Regions from separate parts of the Homo sapiens genome. Here region 1 is linked to region 2. Evidence: promoter capture Hi-C in 16 types of primary human blood cells and fetal thymus (Javierre and others, 2016). All regions are on one chromosome and are shown on one strand. Each heading gives the region's core, a stretch centred on a gene start or on the middle of the fragment in contact. The rest is flanking DNA. Distances are from core to core; before and after follow the strand shown. Region 1 has its middle 22 kb from the start of CDON. Region 2 holds the start of PUS3 (pseudouridine synthase 3).

Region 1 (5,059 bases), core at 2,069-4,568, 180 kb before region 2:
TAACCCATTTTTTTCCCCAGGTCGATATTTTTACATGGGGAGCAATTGGAGTTTTCAAGCTCAGCCACTCCATTATTGATCATTGATTTACTATCTGTGGTTGTGAACGAATCTGTCTAAACCAATAGAAGATTGAGGGGGTTTTTTTGTTTTGTTTTTTGTTTGTTTTTCTTTTTTTTGAGACAGAGTTTTGCTCTTGTTGCCCAGGCTGGAGTGCATTGGTGCAATCTCGGCTCACCGCAACCTCTGCCTCCCAGGTTCAAGTGATTCTCCTGCCTCAGCCTCTCGAGTAGCTGGGATTACAGGCATGCACCACCACGCCCGGCTAATTTTTCTATTTTTAGTAGAGACGGGGTTTCTTCATGTTGGCTAGGCTGATCTCGAACTCCTAACCTCAAGTGATCTGCCCGCCTCGGCCTCCCAAAGTGCTGGGATTACAGGCATGAGCCACTGCACCCGGCCAGATTGAGGTTTTTTCCTCACCTCTCGTTGGCCTTGACAAAGGGGCCAGGAAGTGGACCACATATGAAGAGTATAGATCCCTAGTTGCTGATGTACATATAAAACACGCATTTTGATACTGCCATGAAAATCAAAGTCCACAGGAAGTATTTCCTGGCAGAAATGTCGTTATAAACATTTTCCAAATTTTTAAATTATAAAAGTATTATAAAAACTCTAAACCAGAATGTCATTCTTTTTCTTTTTTTTTTTTTAGATGGAGGCTCACTCTGTCGCCCAGGCTGGAGTGTGGTGGCGCGATCTTGGCTCGCTGCAACCTCTGTGTCCTGGGGCTGCTCCTGCTAGGGTGTCACCATGGGTCCCCAAGCTGATGTGATGCTGTCAGCATCCTGTCGGCACCTCCTTGGCCTGTACCATTTCGGGGCATGCTGGCTGACATTCCGACTGCCAGCTTCTATATCACTTGCCTGAGGCCTTTCTTTGCCTGCTGCAGCCTGCTTTGCCCACATATGTGGTAAACCAGACACACCGGGGAATTCATGCTCCTAGAGCAGCCCTCAACCATTGATTGATGGGAGTTGGTATATATGCCCCAGCTCCCTCCCCGCCTCAGGTAGGATGATTCAGAGGCTGTTCAACACTCCCAGAATTCCTCAGTGGGGATGAGCTTTAATTCCCTTAGTAGGAACTAGCTTGGTAACACACCTTTTTGGGGGCCTTTTTTCCTTTCCTGTCTCACTTGCCCACTCTCCTACTAGTGTTTACTGGGATCAAACAAATGACTTGTATTTGAATCCCTTTCTCCAGGTCTGCTTCTAGGGGAACCCAAACTAAAATGGATGGGTTATGCTTAGATCAAACTAAAGTGATACAAGACCATTCTTTTGGGCCATTTTATCTTGTACCCTCATCAACGGAGTCTTATTACTGTAGGGTGTCAACTAAAGACATTGCCAATCCTGTTACTCAGCACTGCCTATACGAATTTCATTGTGAGAAATTTCTTCTAAAACTTACAGCTGGAAAAAATTTTGCTTAGCCTGACACGCTGGTATATTTCCTTCATTCTGGTAAAGAGAATTAGATTCCAGACATCTGTCTGTCTGTCTCCTTTTTTTCCTCTCTCTTTTCCTCTCCAGATTTGCCTTCAGGGAAGCTCAGAAGCCAATCTGGAGTCCAATAACAGCAAATATGCAGGACTTTATCCCCCGTGTATGTGTGTTTCTCTTCCCTAGTCTTGATTTCATTTCGTGTATATTTTCTGTGATCCTAGTTATTCATTCTTATTTGGACTTACTCCTGCTTTAGTGCATGCATCTCTTTGCAAGCCGCCAATACTCTGTGGAACTAGTGGCCATGTGAATAAGGTGTTTAAGAAGCACTTCTTTAATGAATTATATTTGGATGCTAACTGTGCAAAGATATTGTTATGAAACTAGAGAAGTATGAGTCTCCCCTCCAGAGCACCTTCTCACCTTGTAGGACAGTGCTTTTTCAACTCTCTGGTTTCTGTAATTGTCTCCTTGGATGAAATCTTACATGGAAGATATGGCAAGTCAATAAAAAGAAGCTGTTCTGGTTGAGATGTGTGAGTGAGGGGATAGGAAATCCTTTCACTCAGCTTGGGAATCCTCTTCCGCTACACCCCCTACACCCTGTCTTTTGGTCCCCCAGGCACCAGCTTCTAAACTTGAGGTCTTTGTAGAGCACTGGTTGACAAACAGCTTTAGAGACACAAGCAGGGTGTGGGCCTTTGATGCCAGGGCAGTGCTGGGGACAGCAGCTGCGCACGGAGCTGTTCTGCCGCCACCCAGGAAAGGGGGCGCTCACTGCTGCAGGCTGTCTACCCACCGGACAGGGCTGTTCTCCCCAAGTTTGCCTTATCACAGGCGCTGACCTATAGGTCAAGAAGCAGCCTCGGCTGGGCACGGTGACTCACGCCTGTAATCCCAGCACTTTGGAAGGCCGAGGTGGGCGGATCACAAGGTCAGGAGTTCGAGACCATCCTGGCTAACATGGGGAAACCCTGTCTCTACTAAAAACACAAAAATTAGCTGGGCGTGGTGGCGTGTGCCTGTAGTCCCAGCTACTCAGGAGGCTAAGGCAGGAGAATCACTTGAACCCAGGAGGCAGAGGTTGCTGTGAGCCAAGATCATGCCACTGCACTCCAGCCGGGCAACAGAATGAGACTCTGTCTCAAAAAAAAAAGAAGCAGCCTCAGGGCAGTTTCCTCCCCAGCCCACTCTGTGTCACTCCATAGCTCGCTGGGCCCTCTTCTGGCCCTCTTGACACCTCCTCAAGTCCCCTCCTCAAGCCTGGTGCGGATGGGCAGGAGCAGGCTGGGACAGAGGTGAAGATCCAGGGGCTGGCTCGGCAGGAGAGGCAGGTGTGTGAGGAGACAGACCTCTGGCTCTGCCTCTTTTTCTGGAAGCTATCGGTTCTAAGCTTAGACACCAATGCACCCCCCACCCCCAGCCCGCACTGTTTGTCTAATAAGGAAACCTTTTTGACCTAGCCAGTTAAAAGTCCCGGCCCTTCACCTCATTACTGCCAAGGCCAGAACTAAAGAGGTGAAAGCTGGCAGCCTTGGGCTGCCTTCAACTTGGCAACTGGCCCTCAGGGTCTGTGTCTCGAAGTCCCAGCCTTTCAATAGGGCTGTGTTTTCAATCCTGCTTACACAAAGCCGCACGGTCTCCCTCCTGGGCCTGAGCGCGCCATTCTCATCTTTCTATGGGGGATTAAGGGCTGCTCTCTTGTTTGAGTGTCACTCTGCCTTTGAACCACTGTGGCTTCATCTGGTTTCAGGCTCAGCTTCCTGCCAGGAAGTGGATTTACCTCTGATTTGCTGTTACTCTCTCTGCAGGATGATGCTGAGGGGAGTGAGTTCCTTTCTCCCCAGACACCACCACCAGCTCCCCGCTTCCACTCCCCTCCACGGCTCTCCAGCTTGAGCCCTTGACATAGCTCCCAGCTCCCTCCTCTTCTGGTGGAATTCTCCTCTCACACAGGGAAAGCGGAGACTCTAAAGATAGGGGAGCCCCAGGCTGGCTCACTGGGGTTGCGGGGGAGGTTGGAGGTGAGGGAGCTGGAGCTGGAGCTGCCTGAGAGACTGAATGTGCACCTGCTGGGGCTGTGGAGGAAGGTCCTGGATTGAGTCAGGGCTGCTTTGGGTCTCTCTGGGGTGGCAGCCTGGAGCTATTCTCTCTCTTCCTGAAAACTCCAGAAAAGAGTTGAGACAGATGCTTCTTCCCTGGATGCTAAGCTTAGACTGGAAACCAGATCTCTTGAATACAAACCTAGAGACATTTTTACCTTCTCCGTGGAGAGTGTGTGTGTGTGTGTGTGTGTGCGTGTAAGAGATAGATAGAGAGACAGAGAGAAAGAGAGAGAGACAGAGGTAGGAAGGAGAACAAAAGTCAGGTGATTTTAGGTACACTGACATCCAGGCAGAGGAAGAAGATTCTTCCTGGAGGGGAGCCAGTTGCTCTACTCTAACAGAGATCAAGAGAAATATCAAAGTATAATTAGGTCGGCGTCGGACTCCATGTGCTGAAAGCAGTAGTTCGGTGGCCCACAAAATAACCTAGGTTTTATTAATGATTGGGGGAGGGTGAGTTGTGGTGGTGAGAATCCACAGTGGCCCCTATTTCTGGAAATGCAGCTCAGGGGTCTGTGGGTGGAGTTGTTCCTGGATTCTTTCTAGATCTCAGGGGAGAGAAGCTAAAGAGCAGGGTGATCTTGCCCTGGGAGAGAGATACCATCTCTGGATGAAGACAGGTGTGTTTTCTTGTTTGCTTGTTTTGTTTTATGTGCCATCCTCCTACATTACCAGTTAGAAGAGAAAACTGCACTCCAAAACTGGGAGTGAAGAGTCTGAGGGGCACTGAGACTGAGCCAGGTGCGCATGGGTGTAGCGGGGACTGATGGAGAAAGGCTCCAAACATTCTTACGGGAGGAGGAGGATGGTGTAATACAGCTAAATGCCAATGGCAAAAGAGCTGAAAGGGGGGTGTAGCTCAAGCGGACAGAGGCAAAGAGAGAGCCCTTGGCCGGCGCCTGCAAACACCACCCTCCAGGGCCTGGCCCTCCCCTGTGTGCCCTGTTGTGGGCCTCAAAGGGTGCTGGCCCAGGCCCTGTCTGCCATTCCCTTCACAAAGCCGGGGTTGTGTTCTTGGCAGGGCTGGGCCTCCCCGCCATTGAGGTCCCGGCTGGGGCTGCCTGCCCTGGGAGCCTCCCTTCCCAGCCAGAGGCCCTCGATTTGTCCAAGTGCCAATACCTAATGAGGAGCTCATTTGAATCCATGCAAAGTACCAGGGAGCAAGGAGGCATGCTAATTAAAGTGATTGCTGTTCTTTAATTAAGCAATAATTCCCCCAAGGAGGGCATTATCATGCAAATAGAGCCCTCTTGGGTGAGGTAAGGGCTTTGGGCAACAGCTGAGGTCTGTTAATAAGGCCCCTGGGCATCGGAGGGCAGGCATCCAGAATGCCCCATTGAGCTGGGTGATAGAGCAAGGGAAATAATCACCCCTGCGCCGCACTGCCTTTTGTCTCTCCAGGCTTTGGCTGCGGAGCTGTGGGAGGCGGGGACCCTGCAC
Region 2 (5,803 bases), core at 3,091-5,590:
AGCTCCACCTCCCGGGTTCACGCCATTCTCCTGCCTCAGCCTCCCGAGTAGCTAGGACTACAGGCGCCCGCCACCACACCTGGCTAATTTTTTGTATTTTTAGTAGAGACGGGGTTTCACTGTGTTAGCCAGGATGGTCTCGATCTCCTGACCTCGTGATCCGCCCCCCTTGGCCTCCCAAAGTGCTGGGATTACAGGCGTGAGCCACCGCGCCCGGCCAACACTTCAACTTTTAATGACATGCACATTTGTGTGTGCTTAATTGGTAGAGGACTGGTAGCCCATCTTAAATCATGGGTAGGCTTCTTCTACCATTTAGAAAATGTCTGGGAACTAGGATTTTGGATTTTTACCCTTTACATAAGTAGGTTTCAGTGCTTTTCTCGTTCTGTAAAAATACATTTTTTAGCGTCAAATGATAAATCCCTAGGGAATGCAAACCCATTTGGGAAAGTTATTCAGTTTAATATCATTTGAAACAAAATATAATCAGGAAAGTAAAAGTTTGTGACTTATCTATAGTGGGTGAAGGAGGATGTCTGGGTCATCAGAATCTGGGTTCTGATATGGAGAGGGGCAATCTGGCTGTGCCTAGCTTAGCTATCTATCCCCCTGAGCACTGCAGGATGAAAATATCTTACTATCAAAAATGTTCTCAATTTGCCAGGCAACTTGAGTATCCTAATGTTCTTCTTTAGAATATCCTTTTTTTTTTTTTTTTTGAGACGGAGTCTCACTCTGTCACCCAGGCTTGGAGTGCAATGGTGTCTCGGCTCACTGCAACCTCTGCCTCCTGGGTTCAGGCGATTCTCCTACCTCAGCCTCCCGAATAGCTGGGATTACAGGTGCGCGCCACCATGCCCGGCTACTTTTTGTATTTTTAGTGGAGAGGGGGTTTTCCCATGTCGGCCAGGCTGGTCTCAAGCTCCTGACCCTCGGGCGATCTGCCCTCCTCAGCTCCCAAGTGTTGGGATTATAGGAATGAGCCACTGTGCCTGGCCTGAGCTATATTTTGATTGCATGGAAAATGTACAAATCTCACTTTAATACTGAATATTAAAAATTAACTGGGCGTGGTGGTGCATGCCTGTAGTCCCAGCTACTCGGGAGGCTGAGGCAGGAGAATCGCTTGAACCTGTAAGGTAGAGCAGTGAGCCGAGATCGTATCACTGCACTCCAGCCTGGGGGACAGAGTGAGACTCTGTCTCAAATAACAAAAAAAAATATTGAATATCAGAAAACAAAGAGGAGATCCTGATGGTTTTTACTATAAGCAGATGCGTTTGTTCTGTGGTTTTCAGCATTTTTCCCATATTAAAAGAGTAAAAATACTCACAGCCGCAGCTCTTCAAATGTCTTTACTGAGTAAAGTGGAGAGCTGGGATCCTTCTGTAAAACTTCCACACGGTGACTGGATTCTACTAAGGATTGATGGATTAACTTGTTTAAGAGTGAATTAGCTGCCAAATCCACTAGAAAAGCAAAAATAAAAAAGAGGACATCAAGCTTCCTGAATGACATCAAATAAGTTGCTCTTTCTCTTTCAGTGGTTGTATACCAAGCAATTGCACCTACGCTCATTTTTCCTCTAAAAGAGGGTTCCAGAAAGAATGATATAGCACTGAGGATTCGTTCTTTATGAGGATTCAGTTTCTTACGCTCTGTTACTTCACCATCCTCTAACTTCAAAGTAGCCTAAGTCCATCTCCATGAGACCAAATCCTTGACAGATGGAAGTTCTGAACCCAATCCCTGCATATTCCATTTCAACTTCCTTTAAATAAATACACCTTACTCCTAATTTAGTGTGTCTCCTGATAGTCACTATAAGAAAACAGAAGCAAAGACAGGCCTTTTCCAATTGAGATTATATTATTCACTCACACTATTAAAGTTATAAACGGAAACAGAATGCTAGTAGATACATGCAAATGAATTCATCTCCTACCTACATCTTCTTCATCATCTTCATTGATGTTATTAATAGAACCATCTGGAAAGGATGGAAGAGAAACAATACAAGTAAAGACAAATGCTGAGCACAAATGTAAAGCATGCTATTCAATTTTTTCTTCCTGACTCTTCAGTGTCTACTGGCAAGAAGAGTCATTTCATGGAGGAATGGACGAAACGATTGGGAAGGTAATGGAGAGTGCTGAATGTCACACTAATGAATCCGCGGTGTTTCACTTGGCAGGGACGTGATGAAAGCAAAACAATACTTTTTAATCATTGAGGTCGCTCTGCTTTGCCCTAACAGCACTCACCTATGTTTCGGACTGCAGTACTCTTAATACCCCAAAGGTTCTTCCGGGGTTGGCTGAGGTTTGAAAACTATTGAGAGACACAAATTTCAACCAATATTAGGATGCAAGCCCTCAAGCAGCCCAGTGCTTCCCTACCACAGGGGCTGGGAGGGATTCAGGGAAGGACACCCGGGTATTGCTTCCTTTGCAATATTAGGTAGCAGCAGATTCCTTTCAAGGTTGGGTTTCCTGTATGAGTTACCCTAAAATTGGAGATTTTCTGTATTCCCTGTACATGCAGTTTCTCTTTCCTAGGCCTCTAGTTTAGAGTTGGGCAGTACTTGGGGCTCACGGCACCAACAAGGGGAGGGTGGCTAGGAAAGTGCGCTGGCAAATGGATGGAAGCGAGGTGAGGCTTAATGGGCAAATGGGCAGAGTAGAAAACTCGGGGTCTAGCTGGGACTACCAGCTGCGTTCCCACCCTGGATTTCCAGGGGTCGTCATTTTTGCCCTTTCTAACCAAAGGTCTTGCCTCTCGTGGGGGTGGGGACGGGGTCTCCCTCTGTGGCCCTCTTCCAAACCCTTCCCGCATCTCCCCTCCAGCATCTGACGCCCCACTTCGAACGCTCGCGGGCTCTCCCTCCCCTCCCAGCCGATCTCCCTCTGCGAGTGGGAGCTCCACCCCCGCGGCTGTGGCCCCCCGGCTCGGTGGCGGTTACGTGGCTGTTCAGCCGCTCGCTCTCCGCCGCCCCTGCGTCGCCTCCCCACAGTAACGACGCCATGGCTGCGATTGCTGCTCCCGCCCCCAGCACGTGCTTCCACCACCGGCGCGAGGCGGTGCTGGCCCCATCCGCTGGCCAATGGGCTTCCTTAGGGGGCAGGCGTCCGCGTCCGCGCCCGCGACCACCGCGGTGCGGCGCGCAGGCGCTGGAAGGCTGGGTGGCGCGCGGAAGGGGCGGAGGGCAGAGAGCGGGGCGGGGGGCAGAGAGCGGGGCGGAGGGCAGAGAGCGGGGCGGAGGGCAGAGAGCGGGGCGAAAGGGCGCGGACCGGAGGGCAGAGGGGGCAGCTTCCGCAGAGTGGAGAGCGCCCCCCGCGCCGCCCCGCGGCCCGCCGCTCACACAGCCCTCCAGGCGGGAGCCCCCCGGACTCCCCGCCGCGCTTTACGCCCCGTGTCGGTTTCCCTGGAAATTTCCGCCTCCACATCACAAGATGTCAGAAAGGTTAGCGAATTGGTTAGCAAAGTGGAGACAAAATCTGATGAATTTGATATGACGAATGACCTCGAATGCCACAGTTGCGGAAAGGAAGCAGAACTGTTCAAGCTCTAACTGCTGTTCCTGCCCTAGATACCTGTGATGTTCCACATAGGCTTTTTAAAGCTTTTATTCTGAAATGTGGTCTCTTGTTAAAAACATTACCTTTCGGTATAACCTCTACGTCCTACATGCGTTTGCATAATCCGGTATAGATCCCTGGATCCCTGGTACTAATGATTTAATGACCGCTCAATTTGGACGAAAGAACCAAATTCCACCTCCCCCCCGCCCCCCAGTTTTCTAATTGTAATTTTGAGATTTTGATCAGCATTTCTGGAATTGGGGGCAAAAATACAAAAACCCACACGAAACTGCAGTCATGATCTCTCCGTGGTGCTGAAGCAACGCTCCCCGCTCTGTTCGGTCACTCTCAGGGCACCTAGTCGTTTGTTTTGAGATTATCATATTCATTTCAGCTTTTAATTTGAATTCTAATAGTAAATGTTTTTGTCTCTCAATGGTAACTTTCTTCTCATTTAACTAGGTATAAAATCGAGCCAAGATCTTCAATCTTTTAGTTTTCGTATAAGGATAGCAGAATTTGAAAAATTACCTTTTTTCTATTATTTTAGCGTAGCACTACAATTCCTCCTTTTATTGCTGTCCCGCCACAGGCCCAGATTCTGCCCTGTGGGCGGAGAAACGGTAGCTGGACTAGAAAACCTCAGGTAGATTCTAGCACCAAGCTCGGTTCTCAGAACTACATTTCCCACAAACTTGGACTACACCTCCCATGAGGGCTCGGGCGCCTGCGCAGAAGACGCACAGTGACAGCTTCCTTTCTCGGAAACGCGGCGCGGCCGGCTGCCGGAAAGTAAGTGTGGGATTTTTGGAGTGGGTTACTTTCTGGGTTCCACAGGGGAAGGGACAAATGGACACACTGCTGAACGGTTGTCTGTTGTCTTCTTTTTGCCCTCTTTCACATACTTTGGTCTTTTCAGGAAAGCATTGCCGTATGGAAATGAGACCTCGCTTAAGACCATGTATTTTTCTTTTGTGCCTGGTACTTTCTGGAGCTCTCGGTGGAAACTCGCCGCAGTAGGGTCGTCTTTAATTCCGTTGTGACGGGAGCTTCAGTGGTACTTGTACTGTGGAGTACAAAAGTGCTCTGCTGCCCCACTTAGAATTGGGTGCTCATAAAACAGTAGAAGTTGAGAACCCAGGAGTATGTGGGAGGCTGTGGCAGCAATTTTCAAATTATTTTGGGGATTGCCTTACATACAGACCACGATTGCTTTCTAGTGATCATAGTGCGTGTCTGCTAATCCTTTGGACAGTACTCCCTCTTCTTCCCTTTGGATTAATATAAAGTTTATCAAGAGGAATGCTATTTATGTGTTAACCCACTGGTTCCTGAGATTAGGACTTTTTTTTTTTTTTTTTTAAGACTGTCGCCCAGGCTGAGTGAAGTGGCGTGATCACTGCTCACTGCAGCCTCTACCTCCTGGGCTCAAGCGATCCTTCCACCTCAGCCTCCAACTAGCTGGGACTGCAGGCGTGCGCCATCTTGGCAGCCTAGTTTTTAATTTTTTAATTAACACACGGTCTCGCTGTGTTGCCCAGGTTGGTCTCGAACTCCTGACTTCGAGCGACCCCCCCTCCCCCCCGCCACCACCCCGTCTTGGCCTCTCAAAATGTTGGGATGACAGGCGTGAGCCACGGCGCCTGGCCCAATGTATGGAACATCTGGTGATGGCCGTTTTAGTTTGTAATTGGTGCTTAGGGGACACACGAATTCCCTCTCTGTGGTTACTTCGCAGCCCTGGCCAGGGTGTTACTTTAAACGTCTGCTTGGGAACTCCTGCACTTCACCCTGAATTAGGGTAAGGTGTGCTGGAAAAAGCACTGTAGTGTACCAAGTCCTGTTTTTGCCACAAATCTGCCTTATGACCAACTAGACTCACTCCCTGGCCTAGTTCTTTAGTTAGCACGGGAGTTGAACTTTGGAGACTTTGGTAATGTTGGACTTTGAGATCCAAATAATCACTGGAGTGTTTTGCATGTTAAAATCACCATGTAATTTTTGACCTCATAAAAAGTCGAGGTATAAATACAAATTACCTTTAATCCCACTACTCGTTAGGTTTTGATCTTTCCCTGTGTGTACTGAGATCATCCTGTATAGTTTATGATACATTCATGTCACTTAATTTCACCTTCCCATATTACTTTCCCAAGATTCCCAATGACTATTTAATATTCTAATGTCTTTAAAGACATTTACTATTCCACTGTTGGTGG

What was found. Contacts are between HindIII fragments. The CHiCAGO score rates a contact against its expected background, and 5 or more counts as called.
Region 1: a contact is called between a fragment that was not itself captured here and the fragment with the promoter of PUS3 in region 2, in 1 of 17 cell types (non-activated CD4 T cells). The highest score is 5.6, in non-activated CD4 T cells.

Annotation. Positions count from the first base shown.
Region 1 is chr11:126,082,409-126,087,467 of GRCh38, reverse strand. No RefSeq gene overlaps it. Among named protein-coding and RNA genes, the nearest start is that of CDON, 22 kb to the right of the region's middle. The HindIII fragment of the contact is 817 bases long and covers 2,910-3,726 here.
Region 2 is chr11:125,901,743-125,907,545 of GRCh38, reverse strand. It overlaps PUS3 (pseudouridine synthase 3), which reads left to right and starts at 4,340. Exons shown (of 4, transcript NM_031307.4): 1 at 4,340-4,376. DDX25 (DEAD-box helicase 25) reads right to left here and starts at 3,038. Exons shown (of 12, transcript NM_013264.5): 1 at 2,966-3,038; 2 at 2,268-2,334; 3 at 1,949-1,993; 4 at 1,337-1,472. The coding sequence starts at 3,028. The HindIII fragment of the contact is 3,679 bases long and covers 3,628-5,803 here.